Regions from separate parts of the Homo sapiens genome. Here regions 1 and 2 are each linked to region 3. The links are contacts of gene promoters, found by promoter capture Hi-C in blood cells and fetal thymus (Javierre and others, 2016). All regions are on one chromosome and are shown on one strand. The core of a region is centred on a gene start or on the middle of the fragment in contact, and the rest is flanking DNA. Distances in the headings are between cores, read along the strand shown. Region 1 overlaps COPZ2 (coat protein complex I subunit zeta 2). Region 2 has its middle 18 kb from the start of MIR10226. Region 3 holds the start of ATP5MC1 (ATP synthase membrane subunit c locus 1).

Region 1 (2,847 bases), core at 284-2,783, 860 kb before region 3:
CTTTTTTTTTTTTTTTAAGGCTGGGCACGGTGGCTCATGCCTGTAATCCCAGCACTTTGGGAGGCCGAGGCGGGTGGATCACCTGAGGTCAGGAGTTCCAGACCAGCCTGGCCAACATGGCGAAACCCTGTCTCTAGTAAAAGTACAAAAATCAGCCAGGCATGGTGGCACACATTGTAATTCCAGCTAATTGGGAGGGTGAGGCAGGAGAATCGCTTCAACCCGGGAGGCAGAGGTTGCAGTGAGCCAAGATTGCGCCACTGCACTCCAGCCTGGGCATCACAGTGAGACTCTGTCTAAAAAAAAAAAATTTTTTTTTTAAATCTTCCCTTTTAGGCCAGGCACAGTGGCTCACGCCTGCAATCCTAGCACTTTGGGAGGCTAAGGTGGGAGGATCACAAGGTGAAGAGTTCGAGACCAGCCTGGCCAATATGGTGAAACCCCGTCTTTACTGAAAATACAAAAAAAATTAGCCGGTAATGGTGGCGCACGCCTATAATCCCAGCTACTCGGGAGGCTGAGGCAGGAGAATTGCTTGAACCCAGGAGGCAGAGGTTGCAGTGAGCCAAGATCACGCCACTGCACTCCAGCCTGGGCGACAGAGTGAGACTCCATCTCAAAACACACACACACACACACACACACACACACACACACACACAAAGAAACAAACAAAAAAATTCCCTTTTGATAGACCCAAATATTGTAGCTTTTCTCAGAGAGCAGGCGCTCCTTCGTGAGGCCTTGGGGTTATGTACAGGGTACATGGGCGTGAGGGCCTGTCACTGCGGCAGGACAAAGATGACAGGATCTGAGTGTACCTCCTTACCCACTGAGACTCCTCCAAGGCAGAAGCTTTGTTTCTCTTTGTTACTAAATCACTGGAAATGACAAACATTTCTTGGGAGCCTCTTCCAGTCCCCATCCTTGGGCTGAGCACCCCCTGTCCCAAGCTCCCTAACCAGGGGTCCTGTAATCCATAAAGAAAGAGCATCCCAGGCCAAGGCTCCAGTTTAGGCGTTGCCTCCCGACTGGCGCTTCCCCAGTTTTTCTTGGCAGGAAACTGAGTTCCTCAGAGGCAGAGACGGGAAGCTTGTGAAGCTTACACCTCAGGCATCCTCCTTTGCACAGCCATCCAGAGCCCTGCATCTTGTTTTGCATTTATAGTTTTGTGTGTGTTTGTGTAAAGTTTTCCTTCAAGAGGGTTCACCAAATTGTATATGCTTCTGGCTCCCCAAAACCTGGCGTTACCCCACTCCCTTTTGGGTCCCAGAAATCTGCAGGAGGCATTCCTTAGTGCCCCAGGCAGTCCAGTACAGTGCCATAGAAACAGCATGGCCTCTGGAACTATTCACATGGTTTTAGATCTTGGCCCTGCCACTCCCTAGCTGTGTGAGAGACCTCCGGCGTGTCACTTGAAACTTTGAGCCTGTTTCCTAATGTATAAAATGATGTAATGATAGAGGGATGTATGTTTTTAAGGAGCTCAAGAAATTTCTATTGGCCGGGGATGGTGGCTCACACCTGTAATCCCAGCACTTTGGGAGGCTGAGGTGGGCGGATCACGAGGTCAGGAGATCGAGACCATCCTGGCTAACATGGTGAAACCCCGTCTCTACTAAAAATACAAAAAATTAGCTTGGTGTGGTGGTGGGTGCCTGTAGTCCCAGCTACTCAGGAGGCTGAAGCAGGAGAATGGTGTGAACCCGGGAGGTGGAGCTTGCAGTGAGCCGAGATCACGCCACTTACTGCACACCAGCCTGGGTGACAGAGCGAGACTCTGTCTCAAAAAAAAAAAAAAAAGAAATTTTTATTATCCTTTGCCCCAGAGCCAGAACTTCTTTTTCTCTCTGAATATTGATCCCCTGATGGAAATTCACAAGCCAACTTTTCTCAAAAGAGCTCCTAGCTTCCTAAGAATATACTAGCATACCAATAGGAGGCAACATCTATTGAATGAGAACCACAAGCTTCACATGTATCTTCTCACACATGTATTTAATCCCCACAATCCCTTATTACCTCCATCCTAAAGATGGAGAAAGTAAGCCTCGGGGAGGGTCAGTAATTGACCCAGGTCACGCATCTAGCTTGTGTTGGAATTGAGCCCTAAGAGCAGGACATGTGGGGCTGGTGGGACTGTCTGAAGTCCTTCCAGAGAGGGCCAGCATCTGTGCCAGTGCTTCCCCTGGGCATTGGAGACCAAACTGGATTTTCCCCAAACCCTGCCTATTCAACAGTCTCCCATAGTTTGACATCAGGTTAGTCTCTTGTTTGGCTTGACTTTGGCTAACATTGAAATCAACTTCTATCTTCATGAGTGGGGCGCTAGTAAGGGGAAGGGCTAGGGGAATGGGATCCCTGGGAATATGCTGGGGGAAGGGAGTGAGAAGTTGGTCAGAGTTCTAGCCATGCTGGGTGCCATCTGGGGCTGATGATTATCAAAGGCACTCCTGCTGTGAGTGTCCCTGACTGTCCCCTCCTCACCCGCCATCCACAATCTCGTCCAGCACCAAGAAGGCTCCGTCCATGTTCTCCAGCAACCAGCGCTTCTCCACGTTCTTCCTGAAGGTGGACACAAGCTCCTGAGCCTCCCTGTGGCTGGGAGGAACTGAGTCCCTGCCTAGGTGAGGCTGACCCCACTCTCCAAAGACTGCCTCATTCACCCCTCACCAAACAAGGACTGGGAAGGAGAATGTGAAGGGCAGTGAGCACAGAGCCCATGCAAGGCATTTCTGAGCAAAGGGCAGTTCTGCTTCCTTACACCCTACCTTGTCCAACCTCCCATACTTTGGGCCTTGACACCCTGGCACCCACCACAGGACCCCAGATGCGTTTCACAACTAG
Region 2 (2,700 bases), core at 106-2,605, 880 kb before region 3:
CTAGAAATAGTGGAACCAGGTTTTTATTTCTGCAATAGTGGCCACTGTTCTGCCCTCTTTCCTCTCTCAGAGGCAACCAGCTGGGAAACTCTGGTTTCCAAGTCCTCTCTCAGAGGCAACCGGCTGGGAAACTCTGGTTTCCAAGAGGCACAGACAGAATCCCAAAAATCTCAGGCCTTTCCCAGCCCCTAGTCACCCTGCCTCCTGAAGGCCTGTCACCTACCTGAAGGCAGCTCCACTAGAGTGACAGCTCCTGTTGGCCCTGGCTGGCTCAGGGCCTCTGGGGAGGGTATGGGGGGATGGTGGGTTGGGAGAGAACTTTTGTGGGGCCTCCTTCAGTCAATGGTCTACAGCTCTGTCTTTGTCTGTCTGTCACTCAGAAGGGAACTGCTGAAGGGAGAGGTCAGGCTGGTCGGTAGAAAGGGAGAAAGAGGCCTATCCCTGTCAGAGAGGGGTTGGGAAGAAGGCAGGCAAGGGGACCGAAGCTCCTTCAACCTCCTCATCCTCTCCCACTCCAACTCCTGGGCTGTTTCCCCTAGGGAATTCCAGGCTTTGCTCATTTTAGGACCAGGGCAGCAACTGCACACAAAGGCCCTTCTCTTCTTGCCGTGTGAAATCCTGGCTCCCCATTGGAGAGCTACTCCCTTACCCTGCCCTGTCTGCAAGAAGAGGCTGCCAAGGGGTCTAACTCAAACCTACAAGGCAGGGAGTTCCATTGCGTTCCCCTTCCATGCAACCAGCACCCTGACTCCACCCCTGTGCTTGCCCGTGTCCCTGCTCGCGCCTGCCACATCAGATTCCCCAGGCTCCCTCACCCCCCCGTGCAATTTAAAGCAGATTCATCCCCTGAGAGCCCCAGTTTCCAGGCCACCCTAGCTTCTACTGTACACTATCCTATCTCCCCAGATTGTGCTGTTTCCAGTCTCCCCTTGTTCCCTCTGCACACGAATCTTCCTCCCCAGATTCAACTGTTTTCAGGCTACTCCCTCTGTCTGCCCCCTGTACACGACTGTCTCCCCAGATCCTGCTGTTTCTAGGTTCCCCCATATTTCCCCGGTATACAAATTGGCCTCCCTGGATTCAGCAGTTTCCAGAAGCCCCTTGCTCTCTCACTAGGCAGTTCCATCTCCCCAGATTCAGCTGTTTTCAGGCTCCCTTCATTTGCCCTGTACACAGGTACCCCTCCCAGGTTCTGCTGTTTCTAGGCTTCCCGATTTCCCTTGTATACGCATCAGTTTCTAGCTTATGTTGATCCCAGCTGCCTAAGGGATTCAGCAGGTTTAGGGAGAGTGGAAGGAAGAAGAGAGTCAGAAAGAGGAGGAGAAGAAAGATGGTCATCAGGGAAGCTCCGGATTTCTCTTGTGACCCTAAGCAGCTTGCATATGACAGCCTCTGGGCCTCTGCCTCTACAAATAGGTCCCTTAAGGCCATCTGCCCTGGGATACCCCAATCCCCTCCCCATTGCTGCTGCCCAGGATCTGAGCTTTAAGTTGGACATCCTCCGGAGGGCCCCCGTCTTGGCAGGAGTGCTTATGCTTGCATGAGGTGGGACAGGCAAGAGCCTTCCCAAGCCAGGAGTTCCCTTGTCTCTCCTCTGCTATTTCCTTCTTGCCTTCCCAGCACCCACGCCCGCCCCCTTTTTTTTTTCTTTTTGAGTTGGAGTTTCACTGTGTCGCCCAGGCTGGAGTGTAGTGGCGTGATCTCGGCTCGCTACAACCTCTGCCTCATGGGCTCAAGCAACAATCCTGCCTCCGCCTCCGGAGTAGCTGGGACTACAGGCGTGTGCCACCATGCCTAGCTAATTTTTGTATTTTTAGTAGAGACAAGGTTTCACCATGTTGGCCAGGCTGGTGAACTCCTGACCGCAGGTGATCCACCTGCCTTGGCCTCCCAAAGTGGTGGGATTACAGGCGTGAGCCACTGTGCCCACCCCCACCCCTTGTCTCTTTCTCATGTGTTGCACCTTAGCTCTCCTCAATTTATCCACATACAATTTATTTTATTTTATTTATTTATTATTTTTTTTTTGAGATGGAGTCACAAAGTGCTGGGATTATAGGCGTGAGCCACCACGCCTGGCCTTTTGTTTTATTTTTGAAACAGTCTTACTCTGTCGCCCAGGCTGGAGAGCAGTGGCATCATCTCATCTCACTGCAACCTCTGACTCTGGGGTTCAAGTGATTCTCCTCCTTCAGCATCCTGTATCCACATAGAATTTAAAGGAAACTCCAAATGCACTCCCAGAACTAAAGGGAGTACAGAACTAAAGAGTCACACTTTTTTTTTTTTTTTTTTTTTTTTTTTTTTCAGTTTTCAAGATGGAGTAGTATCAATCTCAGGCCCTGGAAACTGCCCCTGGACTAGTTTCCTGGCATGCTTCTCCAGCCTTTGTAAACAACTGTTTCATCTGCAGACTCCCTGCATCCTAATCCTCCTTGGGGCTGGAGGTGGGAGGGTATGGGAAGTGTTCTGCAAGGTACTCCAGTCTTCTTATCTTCTCTGACTCATTTAGCTACTGCCTGCAAAGTTTCCACTGGAATCTGGGGAAATGGTCTGATCCCTCATCGCCTTCCTCCATATACAGCTGCCTACCCATTAGACTAATCCCAGCCATTTGTCAGTCACGATGCTCCATCATACTGGCCCCAGCAAACTTTCTGGTTTCACTAAGAAATAAATAGGAAGGGCAGGCCCACTGGG
Region 3 (2,700 bases), core at 84-2,583:
GATTCTTCAAAATAAATTCCTAGAAGTGATATTACTGGATGAAAAGTGGATGGAGAGCTTAAAGGCTCTTAGTTACTCAAGAATTACTGGGTCAAAGAGGATGGCCCATTCACAGCCTTTGAATAAAAATAAATATTGCCAAACTGCTTTCAAGGAAGGTTTTCTAATTCATCCTCTCACCAGCAATATAGGAGAGCGTGTGGCTCACATTAATAAAAAGAACTCTGCTGTTTTGAGCAGTACTAAGCGGAGCGTTTAAACTTATATTTCTTTGATTAGGAAGGCTGACATTCGTTCCTGCAATTCATATTTCTTCCTTACTGAATTGCCTGTTCCTATCCTTTGCTCGTTTTTCTATAGGGATATTATTTCATTCTTTCAGTGTTGTTTTTACAAAATAAACAATTTTTTTGTTTGTTTTTTCCCCCGAGACGGAATCCTGCTCAGTTGCCCAGGCTGGAGTGCAGTGGCGCGATCTCGGCTCCCTGCAACCTCGGCCTCCCGGGTTCAAGCGATTCTCCTGCCTCAGCCTCCCAAGTAGCTGGGATTACAGGCACGCGCCACCACCATGCCCGGCTAATTTTTGTATTCTTAGTAGAGACGGGGTTTCACCATGCTGGTCAGGCTGATCTCGAACTCCTGACCTCAGGTGATCCGCCCGCCTCGGCCTCCCAAAGTGCTGGGATTACAGGCGTGAGCCACTGCACCCGGCCCAACAAATGTTTTAGAAAGCCATCTGGATGATAGTCCATGACTGCTGAACACCGGCTGAGGTCCACAAAACTGCGCTCACCGCTTGGGGACTTTCCAGCCGGCCTTTACTCTCCATGGAAAGCGGTCTTTCCACAAACCTCCACGGTGGGAATTACTGCAAAGGCATCGGCTCTCCCGGCCTAGAATATCTCGCGGGATCTCAGCTGTCCTTGGGCCCCCCCCCTCAGCGCAACTACCAATCCCAACATGCAACGCGCCCCGTGGCCCAAGCGCCCGAATGAAGGCTCGGGGCCAAAGTCATGTGTCTGACTGCGTCACACGTCCCGTCATCTCTCCCACGCCTTTTTCTTCAGCGTACACCTTGGTCGCCATCTTGTGCGCGAGGTTATGGAACCTCTGAGTCCCGCCAACTCTATGGTCGAGCGTTTCAGGGATCGGCCAATCGTAATCCAGATCTCGTAGGAAAGCCCCGCCTCTATCCGCATGGAGGCGGGAATTGCCACGAAGCTCCTGTGGAGGGAGAGGAAGCAGCTGCGGAAAGCCAATAAGAGTGGGGAATCGATGACGTCAACCAATGGGGACGCGGGGATATTACGGCCAATGAGAATGGAGAAGGTCCAGGACACGTGGGTGGGGGAAGCTGAGCGCTGAGACCAAGGGCTAAAGCTGGGAGGTGAGTCTGTCACCTTGAGCCGGGCGAGCGCTGTGGGCCAAGCAGGGGTTGCAGGGTAGTAGGAGTGCAGGTGACTTGGGGCCGGGAGCCAGCAATAGGCAGGGTTGTGGGCTGGGCAGTGTGGAGGGGTATTTCCCCCCAGTGCTGGGAGAGGCTATGGCAATCTAGATATGGCCTTATCAATGAATGTTAATTACCAACGGTAATGAACGATTGACTGCCTCGGCTGGGGCGGGTCGGGGACTGCTGTGTAAGATGGGCAGGATCCTGCGCGACACCTGCCCAGTATCCGCCTCCAGTCTTCCCGAGAGACCATTCCCTTTCGCAACATTTCCTTCCTGGGGCTTGGGCACATTTCCTTGACTTCCGATCTCCATGACTTTGCTTTGAAGACCCACTGCTCTGTCCCTCTGACCTCTAATGCCCTCCTCAGCTGGGGCACGGTGCAAGGAAGAGCGTGGTCTAGGGAGGACGGACGGGGGTGAAGGGGACGACCAAAGGTCGTCATTATAAGCAAACAACCAGGGTCTCAGTGGGATTATTATTACTATTTTTTCCCCCTCTGCAGACTGAAAAAATGCAGACCGCCGGGGCATTATTCATTTCTCCAGCTCTGGTAAGGTGCCGCGCCGCAGTGCTCTGTAGTACCAGGTGTATGGTGTGGACGCCATCAGTGTTTAATGAATGAACCCAGGGGAGCTTGGCGTCCTGATGATGTAGGCTCTTTGAGGTGGCTGTAGGATGTGATGAAGGTAACCCCTGTTTATCTGGGCCTGTGAACCAAGCTATCTTGGCTTTGGAATGTGGTCAGAGAGTCTGGATTTGATTTTTATCCCCAGTCTGTCCTGGCCATAGAGACAGCCCACTAAAACAGTGGTTTTCAACAGTGGCTGCACGTTAGAATCATCCAGGGAACTTTTTAAAATCCTGATGCCTAGGCTGCACCTTAGACCATTTGCATCAGACTTTGGGAATGGGGGTGGAACCCAGGCATCTGTATCTTTTAAGACTTCTCCAGATGATTCCACCGTGCAGCCAAGTTTGAGAACCACTGCACTAAAAATTATTTCAAAAAAGCCATGTTACAGATGGCTCTCCTTGGATGGCTATTCCAGTCGGTTTCCGGGGCTGACTGGCCCACTCCATTTAGGGTGTGTAGCTGTGAGTGTATTTTAGCAGAATAAAATTTCCCCCATCTGATTACTTGGTGATCTGGGTATAAACCTTTCCTGTACCTGCTTTGGTATTAGTGTGGGTTCTTGTTCCATTCTGAGAAGCTGATTAAAGCTGTGCCCAAAGAAGTGAACTTTGGT

The links. Contacts are between HindIII fragments. The CHiCAGO score rates a contact against its expected background, and 5 or more counts as called.
Region 1: a contact is called between a fragment that was not itself captured here and the fragment with the promoter of ATP5MC1 in region 3, in 1 of 17 cell types (neutrophils). The highest score is 5.8, in neutrophils.
Region 2: a fragment that was not itself captured here is called in contact with the fragment with the promoter of ATP5MC1 in region 3 in 1 of 17 cell types (neutrophils); the score reaches 5.3 in neutrophils.

The regions. Positions count from the first base shown.
Region 1 is chr17:48,029,669-48,032,515 of GRCh38, forward strand. It overlaps COPZ2 (coat protein complex I subunit zeta 2), which reads right to left. Exons shown (of 9, transcript NM_016429.4): 6 at 2,488-2,565. Among named protein-coding and RNA genes, the nearest start is that of MIR10226, 1.8 kb to the right of the region's middle. The HindIII fragment of the contact is 869 bases long and covers 1,100-1,968 here.
Region 2 is chr17:48,013,824-48,016,523 of GRCh38, forward strand. No RefSeq gene overlaps it. Among named protein-coding and RNA genes, the nearest start is that of MIR10226, 18 kb to the right of the region's middle. RefSeq lists enhancers at 1,202-1,703, 1,704-2,203. The HindIII fragment of the contact is 3,187 bases long and covers 1-2,700 here.
Region 3 is chr17:48,891,454-48,894,153 of GRCh38, forward strand. ATP5MC1 (ATP synthase membrane subunit c locus 1) reads left to right here and starts at 1,334. Exons shown (of 5, transcript NM_005175.3): 1 at 1,334-1,457; 2 at 1,956-2,003. The coding sequence starts at 1,965. It overlaps LOC105371814 (a long non-coding RNA gene), which reads right to left. Exons shown (of 4, transcript NR_135674.1): 2 at 794-1,224. RefSeq lists enhancers at 150-1,129, 767-1,226, 1,237-1,356, 1,937-2,046, 2,087-2,136. The HindIII fragment of the contact is 10,294 bases long and covers 1-2,700 here.